Regions from separate parts of the Homo sapiens genome. Here regions 2, 3, 4 and 5 are each linked to region 1. The links are contacts of gene promoters, found by promoter capture Hi-C in blood cells and fetal thymus (Javierre and others, 2016). All regions are on one chromosome and are shown on one strand. The core of a region is centred on a gene start or on the middle of the fragment in contact, and the rest is flanking DNA. Distances in the headings are between cores, read along the strand shown.

What was found. Contacts are between HindIII fragments. The CHiCAGO score rates a contact against its expected background, and 5 or more counts as called.
Region 2: a fragment that was not itself captured here is called in contact with the fragment with the promoter of LRP2BP in region 1 in 3 of 17 cell types (fetal thymus, total B cells and total CD4 T cells); the score reaches 7.3 in fetal thymus.
Region 3: a contact is called between a fragment that was not itself captured here and the fragment with the promoter of LRP2BP in region 1, in 2 of 17 cell types (monocytes and fetal thymus). The highest score is 6.9, in monocytes.
Region 4: a contact is called between the fragment with the promoter of ING2 here and the fragment with the promoter of LRP2BP in region 1, in 6 of 17 cell types (fetal thymus, monocytes, total B cells and 3 more). The highest score is 7.9, in fetal thymus.
Region 5: a contact is called between a fragment that was not itself captured here and the fragment with the promoter of LRP2BP in region 1, in 1 of 17 cell types (non-activated CD4 T cells). The highest score is 7.0, in non-activated CD4 T cells.

What each region holds. Positions count from the first base shown.
Region 1 is chr4:185,394,465-185,397,340 of GRCh38, reverse strand. LRP2BP (LRP2 binding protein) reads left to right here and starts at 1,417. Exons shown (of 9, transcript NM_001377440.1): 1 at 1,417-2,562. ANKRD37 (ankyrin repeat domain 37) reads right to left here and starts at 500. Exons shown (of 5, transcript NM_181726.4): 1 at 391-500; 2 at 39-191. The coding sequence starts at 417. RefSeq lists silencers at 515-884, 1,105-1,294 and an enhancer at 915-984. The HindIII fragment of the contact is 1,591 bases long and covers 345-1,935 here.
Region 2 is chr4:184,261,095-184,263,990 of GRCh38, reverse strand. It overlaps LOC105377582 (a long non-coding RNA gene), which reads left to right. Exons shown (of 6, transcript XR_939552.3): 6 at 1,186-1,362. Among named protein-coding and RNA genes, the nearest start is that of ENPP6, 45 kb to the right of the region's middle. The HindIII fragment of the contact is 3,740 bases long and covers 1-2,896 here.
Region 3 is chr4:183,653,754-183,656,545 of GRCh38, reverse strand. It overlaps RWDD4 (RWD domain containing 4), which reads left to right. Exons shown (of 8, transcript NM_152682.4): 2 at 585-665. Among named protein-coding and RNA genes, the nearest start is that of RWDD4, 4.0 kb to the left of the region's middle. The HindIII fragment of the contact is 916 bases long and covers 851-1,766 here.
Region 4 is chr4:183,503,608-183,506,307 of GRCh38, reverse strand. It overlaps ING2 (inhibitor of growth family member 2), which reads right to left and starts at 1,250. Exons shown (of 2, transcript NM_001564.4): 1 at 941-1,250. The coding sequence starts at 1,112. ING2-DT (ING2 divergent transcript) reads left to right here and starts at 1,793. Exons shown (of 3, transcript NR_033995.2): 1 at 1,793-2,132. RefSeq lists silencers at 189-908, 1,129-2,168. The HindIII fragment of the contact is 10,965 bases long and covers 1-2,700 here.
Region 5 is chr4:183,435,360-183,438,220 of GRCh38, reverse strand. No RefSeq gene overlaps it. Among named protein-coding and RNA genes, the nearest start is that of CDKN2AIP, 7.8 kb to the left of the region's middle. RefSeq lists an enhancer at 1-224. The HindIII fragment of the contact is 8,424 bases long and covers 1-2,861 here.

The DNA of each region.
Region 1 (2,876 bases), core at 168-2,667:
GAGGGGACGGCTGTACACAGCAACAGTTACCTAGTTACCTGCTGGTTGAGGTCAGCGCCCGTTTGCAGCTGCCAGAGAAGAAAGCAAGCAAGGCCGCTTCCTGCGGCTAAGTGGACAGGCGACTGCTTGCAGGGATCCGGGGGTGCGTTGACCGAGGCCCCTGTCTCCAGCAAATGCTTCAGACCATCCACCTGCAGGAAGAGAACAGATCCAGCACCCTTCCCACCTTTGTCCAGTCCCGCGCCCCTCCGGGCTGGAAACCTCCCCGCCCTTCACAACCAGCTCTGACCAGGCAGCGCCCAGTGGTCCGTCCCCGCATTAACGAGAAGACGAATCTAGAAGCTTGAGCCTGCAGGACAAAAGCTCGGGCTCTGTGAGCCCGAATCTCACCTCGGGGTTGCAATCCAGCAACAGCATTTCCCGCCTAAGGCAGATGACAAGAGTCCTTGGAAGTGCAGAGAGGTGAGACACTCGCCGCACCCCGACAGGTAAGAATGCGCAGGCTGGCCCTAGCACGGGAGAATTTAAAGACCGCTGGGACTTCCGGGCCGGCCCTTGGCAGCCGCGCCCCAGCTCCGGTTACGCCCGAGCAGCCTAATCCTCAACGACCCGGACCCTGTCCAGCCCCGCCACGGCCGCACGTACACAAACACTGGCACGTGGAGCCCGGCGCCGGGGGCAGGGGGAGGGGGCGGGCGCGCGAGGCCATCCGCCGATTGGCCAGCTGTGGATGCGTCAGGCCCTCCCACCTCGGGGCGGGGCCCGCGGCGGCCCCACGGAGCCTCAGCGCGCGTGCGCAGGGTAAGTCAGTGGGCGTGAGAGGACTGGAGTAGGAGCGGGTGGGGCTCCGCGGCCGCCATGAGGCGCGCTGAGTTTGACACGTCTCCCGGTAGTGCGCCCGCCCTTTAATCCTTACGGAGAAGCGGGAGTTTCGGCTGCAGGTTTTGGCTCTGCCGGCGCGCACGTAACCAGGAAACTGGGAGCCACGCGCAGCTCCCCGTCGACGCCGCCTTCAGAAGCCGCTGTGCACTGCGCTGCTGCCGCCTCGGCGCCGGGGAACGCAAGTTCCTTTACCTCGCGCGCAGTCGCCCGCCTCCCAACCCGGGAGGTGAAGGCGGGGACGGCGAGCGCGAACTCGAGGGGATGGCTGTCCCGAGTGGCAACGGCCGAGCCCGGCCCGCGCAGGGACCCTTGTGGAGGGGCCCTCGGGGAGAGGCCGCAGCACGCTGGGGTCGTCACGCTGGTCCACGCCGGGCTCTCCTCCCGGGAGAGCGGACCCGGCCGCGTGCGATTCGGACCCGCGGGGCTGGTGAAGCCGCTGTCCGGCCCCGCGGGTGCTGTCGGGCGTGCGTCACTGCTTTTTGTAGAACATGACCTGACTTCCGATGGCAGCTACTGACGTCAGAGCTGCTCCCTAGACTCTCCCTAAGCGTCTTTCCAGAAGGATCTGCTTAGAAACCAAAGCTCCAGCCGAGTGTTTCTTTTCCCCTACATTTTTAGTGATTCCCTTCTGTTGATGCCTTTGAAAGCTCGGAGAAATAAATACGTTTATTGTTATGCTGTTAGAAAACAAGTTCATGCTTGTCCTCTAAAGATAAGTGGTCTTTTCATTCTACTTTTTGTTTTGTAGTAAGAGCCATAAAATTTGCAATCGCAAGTTTATGTTGTTATACTTAGTTACCCAAGGGGTAGTTTTAAGCATTTTTATTCATATGAATATTTGAATATAAATGTGTGTTCAAATATATAGAATCGTTCTTATATTCCACATTTTTAATATTTAAACTATTCACAATATCTTTTAATGATGTTTAAAGAACGGCAGTGTAGAGATACTGTTGTCAGATTTGTGAGGTGAGCACACGTTGATATTGCCAGTTTCGCTTTTGTTTATCAATTCAATAAGCACTGCTTTTTAAAACACGTGTTGAAGCTTCAGGTTTGCACAGAAGTTCATTTTCAGGAATTCCTAACTAATAAAGGGTATCAGACACGTTCTTACAGTTTTGAACATAAATACTGCAGTTAGCATATGTAGTGGGATATTTGTGTGGTGAAAGTGCCTCCATATTTCATATCTTTTCTTTGAAACAAGATTCTGTTCAGTATGCATTAAGTGGTAGTTATTTTTTAACTTCCTGTTACATACGTAAATTTCATAAGGAAAGGAAATTTGGGGAGTCGTTACAGCTTTTCTCCCTTTAATCACAGCGTACCTGTCCATTGCTCACATTGTTTTCAGAAAAAAAAGTTGTATCTCAGCTGGATATCTGACTTGACTTTAGTAATGGGCCTAGAAACTATAAACTGAACAAAGCTTATAATGCACAAAAACAGGATAAGTACATTTGGGGGACAATATCTTACTGGCAAGTAACTGGAGTTTCACCAGGCGTGTAGCAGGTGGGATCAATTTTCTAAAACGGAAGATGATCTAAGATGCATATTTTATAGGCGTTCTCCTAAGCAGTGCTAATTCTACATGTTTTAATTGCTGGTAGATGCGTTTCCAGAACGAGGATGCCATTTACAGCGAGTGTTAAAAAAAACGTTGGATGATGAGTAAGTGACCGAATAGATGAGAGATGTGTGGGCTGAATCTTGAGTAGTAAGAGTTTGCTAAGGAGTCCAGGAAGGGAAGAGTATTTCTAAGAAGTGTAAAATATCTTCCAGTATTGAGAGCACTATATGTAGTTCAGTCTGGGGGCAGTGTGTGATACACATGCAGCTGTGATGTGAAATAGAGAAAGGCCGACAAATGAGAAAGTATTAACCACTAACGTCTATTCCAGTTTATTATATTACAAATTGACATTAATTGAGCACTTGTGCCTCAAGACTAACGCTCATAGGTATTATCTGCATTTTACAGAAGA
Region 2 (2,896 bases), core at 94-2,593, 1.1 Mb after region 1:
GCTGTATCATTAACTGGTAGAGTTATTTCCGGTCCAGGGGTCAAAGCCGTAATTTATGTAGCCAAAGGCCTCAAAGATGATTGCTCTCCAGGACGCCTTCCCATTCTCAGAGTCTAGCTCTAGAGTATTTGGGAAGCGGGGTATGTTAGACCCTGGCTTCTGCCATTTTTCCTGGGAGCTTATTCCACAGCCTGGCCTTCTGCGAGTTCAATCATGTGGTTGCCTGGGAGCCTAGTGAGAAGAAAATCCAAGCCCAAGTCCACTTGGAGAACTCCAGCATCATTTTAGTGGGAAGGTGCCATGTCCTCTACATAGGGGCTGGCGGGATGGCAGCTTGTACTGGCGGAAGGGTTCTTGGAAGAGATCCCCAAGGGACACACATTCCTTAAAATGTGACAGGCACAACAAGGGACTCCATTTTAAATCGATCAGATTAAAGATTGTTTTACATTGTGCTCAATGCATGCAGGGTTTGGTTAGATGGGCAAGTTGATGGGAGGTAAACAGGTTGATTTTTGTGTGGGCAGTTTGAAAATATCAAGAGCTTTGAAAATGATGGTTACTTTTTTCTTGAAATTTCCATCACAGAGGCAGAATGTGAGCAAAGATGACTATACAGAGACATTTATTCTGGCTTCCAGTCTGTGGTTAGAAAAACTGGAAGCAACCTAAATGCTTAGCTTTAGGGAAGAGGCTTAAGATGGTGGTAACCAAGGGTTGCTTTTTTTGTTGTTGTTTTGCCATGGATGGAGCCTTTCTTCAGGTGCACTGTTATGTGAAACTCTAATGATGTACAAGGGGATTGATTCAAGTTGGTTGGTAGTGGGGGGTGGTTTCTGTTGCAGCATCTCACCCAGACTGCATGACCCAGCCAGTCCTCAGGCTCCCCAGTGGCAGCTCATGAGGCACTTCCATGGCAAACATACCCCATGACTCAGACAACTGTGGGATGTCAGTATCAGCCTTTCCTTCTGACTGGTGGAAATTTGCACAGCTCTCTCCCTAATTCTTCTGACTTTTCTGTACTTGCCAAATTTTTCATTATGAATATATTACTTATTGCAATAAAATATCTAAGATGTTAAAAATGATGTCAGTTTATTATTTTAGAATTAGAAGTATAATTGTCACAGAAACCACAAAACTTGGGTCAGCCTGGCCAACATATTCTTTCCTTTTTGGCAGATCTTCAGGCTCGTGTGGAAAAACCGATAAAATAGAAAAAGCAATCGGAAGAATATAAAAATCACTGATAATCCCGCCACCTAGAGAAAACTACTGTTAGTATTTTGAGTGTATTTCCCTCCAGCTTTTTTCTATATATGTGTATGTATTTATAATATATAAATAATATACTATATATTAATCAAATACTATATATAATAAATACATTATATATCTTACATAGAACACATTTTATTTATTGTATTATAAACACAGTTTTGTGTCCTGTTTATTTTTGTAAACGTTATATTGTATAGTCCCTAGATATTACCATTTGAAAACATGACATTTAATGGTTTCCTAATATTTAAATCTATTGACAAACATAATTTTATAACCAATATTTCTTCTATAACGGATAGCACAGGATGAACATACCTGTACGTAAATCTTGTCTATATTCGTACTTTTGCCAGTCGCAGTTTCCAAGAACCTATTCATGATGTTAGGTGAGGACTTACTGTACTTGAAAAAAAACCTCCCCAAAAGTAGGTAAGAGACTTTCTTGTAGTCATTTCTCTTGTAGTCATTTGATTGATTAGAAATATATGTAAAATATGGCTTGTTCATCTATTTAGACAATAATTACAAACATACCAAATTAATTTACATTTAAATGTTTTTCATTCGTTTCAAATTGAGCTATGATCTGTGGAATGTCAAGGCGTCTTTTTGCTTTTATTGGCTTGTTATGGACCATCAATATTATGTTGTTAATTAAAGGAAATAACTGGGCTAGGTGTGGTGGCTCACGCCTGTAATCCCAGCACTTTGGGAGGCTGAGGCGGGCAGATCACTTGTGGACAGGAGTTCCAGACCGGCCTGGCCAACATGGTGAAACCCCATCTCTACTAAAAATACAAAAATTAGCCAGGTGTGGTGGCGCACGCCTGTAATCCCAGCTACTTGGGAGGCCAAGGCACGAGAATCAGTTGAACCCAGGAAGCAGAGGCTGCAGTGAGCTGAGATGGTGCTGCTGCACCCAGCACTGGTGACAGAGCAAGACTCCATCTCAAAAAAAAAGTAACTGGTCCTAAGTTTTCTGTGAGCAGCTGTAGTCAAGCAAAGACTGAAAACATTCCATTTTGGAAGGAGAATTAAGATAAAAGCAAGCAAGCAAACGCCCCCTTCCCACCATCCACCCAAATGTATGCAATCTTTTGCTTCACATTTTTGTGTAATGCATGGTGTTTTCAGAATCCTCCTCAGAATCTTGCCTCTCCTATTGCTTTGTGTTATTGAACGCGGACTTGTGCAAGCAGAAGCTCTGCACCTCTTCCTCTGCAGAAGAGGAAAGGAGCTGGGTCCTTTCCTCTTACACACCGGGGCACCTCCTTATTGCCTCACCAACCAGTTTGTTTTACAACTTGCAGGAGAGTATTATTACATCTGAGCACTCAGAAATTAGATGCTGACACTGAGTATTGATTTACATAAAAATCTACATATTTGTGGTTTTTCGAGAGCTACTCACTTGGAACTTTACAAGGTCAGGCATCCCCTGAGCCTAGGACCATGCCTGATACAAAGGGCGTGCTCAACAAAAAGTTGCTGAATTAAAAATCATCTTGGAATGTAAAGGTGACTAGCATTATGGAAATAGTTTATATTGACATGATTATTATTATTTACTTTATTTTTTTTTATTTAGGTGCTCACTCTGTCTCCCAGG
Region 3 (2,792 bases), core at 59-2,558, 1.7 Mb after region 1:
CTATGTCCAAGCAAGGATTACTAGTTACATTTTCTCTGACAGTCCTGTCTCATCTTGGGTAGATACTTGTCAGCCTTTTTCTTAAGTTCTTTTTCTTGCCCTTAGGTGTTTTTTAGAGCTTTGTATCACTGTGGGAAGGATTACATATAAAAGAAATGTATGTAAATAATGGGAAAGTATTGTTTTTCATAGTTCTTATCTTTAGGTTTAATGCTCTTTGCACCCAGGTTCGTCTTTAGCCAAGTTCTAAGAGCGCTTGCTCTGGAGTGGCTTTACAGGGAGACTTCCTTGCTTCCCTAGGAAGGAGAAAATAATAGGAGCCTCTTGACAGGGTTGATTTGAGAAGTCAGCGCGATCATACATTGTACAGTGCTTAGTAGTCCCTGACACAGAGTTTGAAAGTAAGTATCATTGGTAGTAATATTGTCATGTGTTGCTGCATGCACCTATGTGGTAAGTATCTAAGGTTATATAAGTTAGTCAAGCTTTTACATAGTTGAGTGGGCTTGAATGAGAAAGTAAAGACCCTCTATTTCTAATTCATTTATACCACTAAACAAAACTCATTCAGTTCTTTATTTCAGATGGAACTAGAAGCATTACGCTCTATTTATGAAGGAGATGAAAGTTTCCGGGAATTAAGTCCAGTTTCTTTTCAATATAGGGTAAGACATGGCATGAATAAGAGCACTTAGAACTTTTCTAGAAAAGACTGAAAGTGGCTAAAAATGCTTATTTTGTTTTTTAAACTTGTTTAAATTTATTATGTCTGTATTTTCTGTAGCATTTAAATGGAAACATCACCCTAACATCAGTCATTTTTAACGTTTGAAAACTTAATTCAGAAGCTTAAAAAACCAAGATAAACTTGTTTTTATTGTACCAGAATCATAAGATACTAGAAATGGAAAAAACCTTAAAAATTATTTAATCTTATCTTTAACATAAAATAGTAACAGTAGGGCTGGGCGCGGTGGCTCTCACCTGTAATCCCAGCACTTTGGGAGGCCAAGGTGGGCGGATCACGAGGTCAGGAGATCGAGACCATCCTGGCCAACATGGTGAAACCCCACTGTCTCTACTAAAAATACAAAAAATTAGCCGGGCATGGTGGCGGGCGCCTGTAGTCCCAGCTACTCGGGAGGCTGAGGCAGGAGAATGGCGTGAACCCGGGAGGCAGAGCTTGCAGTGAGCCGAGATCAAGCCACTGCGACAGAGCGAGACTCTGTCTCAAAAAAAAAATAGTAACAGTATTTTATTTTGTAAATAAGTCATATAAACCTTTTATTCAAATGATTATAAGTAGGCGGGGCACAGTGGCTCACACCTTTAATCCCAGAACTTTGAGAGGCCGAGGCAGGCGGATCACCTCAAGTCTGGAGTTCTAGACCAGCCTGGCCAACAAGGTGAAACCCTGTCTCTACTAAAAATACAAAAATTAGCCACGCATGATGGTGCATGCCTGTAGTCCCAGCTACTTGGGAGGCTGAGGCAGGAGAATCACTTGAACCCAGGAGGCGGAGGTTCCAGTGAGCAGAGATTGTGCCACTGCACTCCAGTCTGGGCGACAGAGCGGGACTCAAAAAAAAAAACAAAAAAAACACACAAATAATTATAAGTAGCGGAATGGGGAAGTTTTTTTTGTAAAAGATTTACAGTTATTATTAACATTGTCACAGTTTAAACTATTAGAAATGATTCTTATGCATGATCGATGGATGACCATCACAGAAAATAAGTTTCTGTTCTCAATTCCCTTTCAAGCTTAACAGTCCTTACACCATCTCCAAGTATGTAATAACCATGGACCTCAAATGTCCAAAGTTAACAGTGGAGCTAAGTCCTAGGCCCTTCGGTTTGAATCCAGTTGCTACTCTCTCCTTAGCAAATGGGAGGTCGAGAATTTCCCTATACTCTCCTAAATATCTCATTCACAATGGCAGTGATTTAGAGCATGTTGTGCAGAATGCCCTAGGACATTTATATGTACTATAAGATGGACACTGACGTGACCCATAGGATGGATTTAAGAAGAATGATACATGAGATTAGGAGACAGTGTGTTGATAGTCAAAGGGCCAGGGGTAAAGTTCTTCCTGTGGCCTGAGTCACACCCCTCAGTTCTTGCACGGAATAGTCTGGTAGCCTCCTAGTTGACTTCCCCGGTTTAATACTTTCTTTAGCTTCCCCCTTATACTCCACCATGAGTCCTCCAACAGTACTAGTTGGCACTCTGAAGCATTTAAGTTGTCATCCCATTCTCTTCTTTAAAAATGTTTTTCTCTGGGTTCCTCTTGCCTATAAAATGAGGACGAAATTTTTTCACTTGACACTCCAAATCCTTCTGTTTGTTTCTGTCTCCAAACTTTCCCCTCCACTCACATGCCTTAGACATAATGGGTTGTGACATTTCCCCCCGTGTATTTTTTTCTAGTACTATGCTTTTGCACACATTGTTTGATCTTTCTCTCACCTCAGGTCCATTATTCCCCTGCCTCTCCTTTAAGGCCTAACTCAGGCCTTCTCTGTGATACATTAATATTTGGGCCATGTCTCCTGTCTCTGCTCTGACTTTGAATCAGAATTAGCCGTTCCCCATTTCTTCATACTTTGTTTTGTTACTTTTGAACTATTATTCATATTGCAGTTTTGTAAGTTATATAAATATCTGTCTGAAGACAGGAATAGCCTTGTCTCTATCTTTGTATCTTCGGTACCCAGCACAGTGTGAGGCATGTGATAATTTATTCCTAAATGCGCCATGAGTAAGGACGTAGTGATTGCATCAAGCA
Region 4 (2,700 bases), core at 1-2,500, 1.9 Mb after region 1:
ATCCGCGACGGTCCGAGCTGCTGATCGCCGTCCTGATCCATTGACTGGGAAAGAGGTTGGAAACATCACCGCAAAACATGCTGCAAACCCCGATTCGGACTCCGCTGGGGCCGAACCAACGCCCCCGCACAGCCCCGACTCCCTCCCCAGCAGCCAGCTCGCCACCGCCCCTCTCGCGACCAGCCATTTTCCAGGCCCGCGGGAACGCGCGCCGCGCCCCTCCCACGCCCCTCGTCAAGCCCGCAGGCCCCGCCCCCGGCGCGGGGGCCCTCCCCGCCACACACGCCCCTCTCTTCCTCTCCCGCGGGGGACCCCTCCCCTCTTAACCATTTTGCCGAAAGAACTGGGCTAGGGCTACAACGCGGGGCGCCCGCGAACTTTCCCGGGGCGAGAGAGCGGAACGGACTGCTCTCCTCCGGGCCGGGGCAGGAGCGCGGAGGAAGGCCCCCTCAGTCCGCCTCCGCGGCCTCTCGCCCCCTCCCCCCGCACGTTCCAAAGCACCCGCACTCCGGGGTGGGGGCGAGTGAGGTGGGGAAGCGCGCCCCGCAGACCAGCGGGAGCCCGGCCGCTCACTCCCTCCGACCCTTGCCCGGCTGCAGTCCCGGGCCGGGGCCGCAGGGTCTGCGGCACGGGGCGGGCCAGCGCCTGAACAAATGCTTGCTGCTTAAAATGGCTGATTCCCCTCAGCGGCAGCTGCAGCCGCTGGGTCTGCAGCGGGGGCTGACAAGCGGCCCCCACCCCCACTCTGGGGACCCCAGAGAAGTACTCGCCCACCGCGGGGCCACGGAGGGCCGCCAACCCGGTCTCCAGTCCTCCCAGTCCCGCTCGGCAGACCCTCGGTGCGCTCGGGGAGACTGTCACGGGAGAAAGGGAAGGTGGCACTCCCCCGGACAGGCTCCCCGCCACCGGCTCCCGAGGCCGGCAGCCCCGCGGCTCCTACCTTGATATTTGTTGTCCAGCTCTCGCAGCACAGACACGTTCCTCTGCATGTCGTGGGGCAGCGACTCCACGCACTCAAGGTAGTCCTGCACGTAGCAGGTGAGCAGCCGGCTCCGCTCCCCGGTCAGGAGCGCGGCCGACGAGTACAGTTGCTGCTGCTGCTGCCCTAACATCCTGCCGATCCGCGCCGTCGCCGCCGCCTCCGCATCCAGCAGCCGCACATGCACCGGCCGCGGCCGCCGCGGGCCCTCAGCTCAGCAGCCCGGCGCCGCGGGGACCCCGCAGCCGCTCGAGAGGGCACGGCCGCGCTCCCCGATCTCCACTCCCCCCAGAGCAGCCCTCACTCCCCGCCCCCGCAGCACCAGCCCAGGGGCGGGGCGAAACCGGGGCTCCCTCCTTTCTCCCCTCCCGCTCCAGGACCGGAGCAGTGGGGATCCCCTCGGCGGGGCCGGCGCCGGGGTCCCGGGCGCTGACACTTCCTGTCCCCCTCGGAGTCCCCAGATGCTACGAGTGCCGTCTCGCAGCCCGGATCCCCATGACAAGCCCGTCGCCGCCCGCCTGTCCCCAGTCACCCTCCGTGCCTCACGGAGAGCCTCCCGCTAGCCTGCCCCCGCCCCTCCGCCCGCGGCCGCCTCTGCGCCTGCGCAGCGCTCCCTGCGAATAAGGCCGGGGCCCGCCCCTACCGCCTACCGGAGGGTTCGCATTCTCCCGCCTTCGCTCCGCCGCCCGGGCGATTGGTCTGCCGGCTCTGGGCTAGCGGGGGAGGGTGTGGGGGGCGGCCAAACGGCAGGCCGCGCCCCGCCCCCCTTAAAGGGGAAGCCCGGGGAGCCAGTCTCTGCGCCTCGCGTCTGAATGGGACCCGGGAGGGGAGGCGGCTCGGTCCTTCGTGCCGTCCTCCCCGCTGGGAGGGGCAGCTCCAGCTCCGCTCGGCTCGCTCCGCCCGGCCACACCGGCTTTTTCCCCATCAGGCGGTCCGAGTGCGGCTCCTCGCGAGCCTGCAAAGGAGCAGCAGGCGGTTCCTTTTCGGACGACCTGGAGCGAGGCCTGCGGGACTGCGCGCCCCGGCGGGCGGCGTGCGGCTCCCGGCATGCGCGGCGGCTGCGTTCCCGCCGCCTCCGAGCTCGCCTGGGGCTGCCGCCCGCCTCCTGCCGGGCCCTCGGGCTCGCCCGGCACCGCGGGGCTTGATCAGGGAGGTAGGCGGTGCTCCCTCCGGCCCCCGGCGTCGTGTGCCCTGCGGGTTTCGTGGCCCTTCCCCTACGCTGGAATCTTCTGTGTCATTTAGGGGGAGGGGATGCGGGACGGCATCTGTTTGACAACGCATTGGTCCCACAGACAGCCTTTAAAAACAACTGCTTTTGGGGGGTGTCAGAACATTTAAGCACAGGACGTCGGTGAGGCTTCCTGGCGGAGTGGGGCACACGCCAGCTTTACGGGACTTTTTGCTCAGTCCTGCCCCAGGACTGCAATCGGAGGGGACCTGGGGCATGGAGGAGACGCGAGTGAAAACCTAGTCAGCGGGCGGGCCCTCGGCCCCATAATCTACGTGATCTCCTAGTGGGGTTTAATTTCGGTGTAGTGTAAATGAGATGTCAGGCAGAGGAGCTGATTTTAATTACAGATGGACATTTTTGAAAGAAATGGGTGCAAATAGAATGAATGCATGGATAATTTTAATGGAATGCCTATGTAAACAAGGCCAATTGTGAGTACTACCTTTGAGTTAAAATGTGAGTGAGTGGTGACAAATTTGGATCTTCTTAG
Region 5 (2,861 bases), core at 5-2,504, 2.0 Mb after region 1:
ATTGTCCAATGATTAACTCACAAGGTGTGGTGACTGAAAGATAAATAAGAACTGAGCTAAGACTTGTTAAATCCAGGCCAGGTACAGTGGCTTACGCCTGTAATCCCAACACTCTGAGAGGCCAAGGCAGGCAGATCAGAGGTCAGGAGTTTGAGACCAGCTTGACCAACATGGTGAAACCCCGTCTTTACTAAAAATACAAAAATTAGCCAGGCATAGTCGTGCGCACCTGTAATCCCAGCTACTCAGGAGGCTGAAGCAGGAGAATTGCTTGAACCCAGGAGGCGGAGATTGCAGTGAGCTGAGATCGCGCCACTGCACTCCAGCCTGGGCAACAGAGTGAGATTGTATCTCAAAAGAAAAAAAAAAAAAGACTTGTTAAATCAAAAAACTAAGATTATGACCACAATAATCCACTTAATTGTTGGGCCCTTTGGGAATTAGGAGCAGGAAGGATAAAAAAAAAATTGTGCTTCTTTGTACCCAGGGCTCCAGTTCATCAATGTGTGATTGCCTTGTAAATGTGAGCAGCCAAGGAAGCAGAAAGGAATGTTCCTGGAGGGATCTAGAAAGCCAGAGGAAAGAACAGCATAGAGCTTAATTTAGTGATCAAAAATATAGACTTGGGAGTCAGACATTCCTGAGTTGGAATTCTGGTTCTGCTAATTACCATCATTGTGTCCATGGGCAAATTATTTCACTTTTCTAAGTCTTCGTTTCCTTACCTGTAAAAGGGGATACCAGCACCTATGAATCATAAGAAATAAACGAGATGATGTCTATAAAGGCACATAGTTTAAATCCAATTAATGAACTTTAGAAACATTTTAGGTTTTATTTGGTAATATTGACAAAGTTTAATAATTGTTTGTTGTTTATGCAGAGAACATTTTTTTTCAAATAAATTCTGAGTATGGTAGGTACAAATCTCTGTCCATAATTTCAAGGTGTGTAAACAAATGTAGCTACAGTATTTTCCTCTGATTAAATTTTTGTTCTTTTCTTTTTTTTTTTTTTTTTTTGAGACAGAGTCTTGCTCTCTCGCTAGCCTGGAGTGCAGTGTCACAATCTCGGCTCACTGCAACCTCTGCCTCCTGGGTTCAAGCAATTCTCCTGCCTCAGCCTCCCTGGTAGCTGGGATTACAAGTGCACACCACCATGCCCGGCTGATTTTTTGTATTTTTAGTAGAGAACAGGGTTTCACCACATTGGCCAGGCTGGTGTCAAACTCCTGAACTCAGGTGATCCACCCACCTCGGCCTCCCAAAGTGCTGGGATTACAGGAGTGAGCCACGGCGCCCGGCCTAAATTTGTTTTCTATTTTAAGGTCCCATCCTACCAAATGGTGGAAACTTAATTTCAGTCACCTGAAGATTTTACTTCCTTCTGTACGAATTTGAGTATCCATTCCAGGGAGCTGACACAGTGCTGAGGCACAAAGGCAGGGTCAGGGACAAGGTGAGGCGCTCCCAGGCATCCCCTGAAATAGCCATCTTCCCACCAGGTTTTGGCCCACAAAGGCCACTGCTGCTTCCTCCTCATCCCTGTAGCAGCGCCTCTTTAGGTCAGGTGACTCTCCCTGCTGTGCTCATGCCCCTCTCAGGCACGGGTGAACATTCCATCGCCTACTGCACTGTGCTGGGGAGCACAGGTTCTCTCTGAGGCCCTCTCAGTCCACTTGCCCACACATGGCACACTGTCATTTCTAGTCTACTCCTCTGTGCCGTGCCAGGGAGAAGGGATGGATGCTCCAGATCTTGCAGCTTCGCTGGCTTCTGCTGGGAATGGGCATGGCCACCTTACTCATGGGTCCCCCAAACCTTTTAAAATTGCCATCATCCTTCCCCACCTCTCTGCTTCCCTTTCTCCCCGCACCACCCGCCCCCCCCCCCCCGCCCCACCCCACCGCCGCGTCCCCGCTGGCCAGTTGCAATTCGGCCTTGGAGGTACAGGTAGGCAGGACAAGGGGCCTCTCTTCTGGGAACCATACCAGCAGTCGAATTCCCTAGCTTCCCTCCTCACCCTTCAAGTTTTCCTTTCCATTGGATAATTTCTTATCTGGATATGAGGTAGCCTGGGTCTTCATTTGTCCTCCGAAACCTGTTATTATGCCCATAAAAGCCAGGGCATTGCTTCTCCTGCCTTCTCTTCTCTGCTGCATCTTGTAAAAGGCAATGGCCATAGAACTCCCACGCCTCGAGCAGAGGCAGAAGCAGGCAGAGGCAGTTTTAAAGGTTAGAGCCGCCCCCGGAATCCCCTGAGGAAATGAGGGAAGGAGCATCCTTAGCCATATCTGCCAAAGCCCCCTTAGGTATTAATACTACAGGCTGATTTTTAATTTTTCATAAGCAATTTCTTTAACCTTATAGAATAGATAGAGCAGCCTTGTGGAAAATTTGCAAGCTAATAAAGAATATGTGGATCAGGCCGGGCACGGTGGGTCACTCCTGTAATCCCAGCACTTTGGGAGGCCGAGGCAGGCGGATCACCTGAGGTCAGGAGTTCAAAACCAGCCTGACCAATACGGTGAAACCCCATCTCTACTAAAAATACAAAAATTAGTGGGTGTGGTGGCATGTGCCTCTAATCCCAGCTACTTGGGAGGCTGAGACAGGAGAATTGCTTGAACCCGGGAGGCGGAGGTAGAGGAGAGCCAAGATCACACCACTGCACTCCAGCCTGGGTGACAGAGCAAGGCTCCATCTAAAACAAAACAAAACAAAACAAAAACACAAAAAAACCAATACATGGATCAATGTAGTCATTCCTGCAAAGATCTTATGATTAGCTCCCTACCAAGGACTGCACCGATGAGGCCAAGGTTATAAAATATAATGGGGGAGAAATGAAGCAAAGGCGAA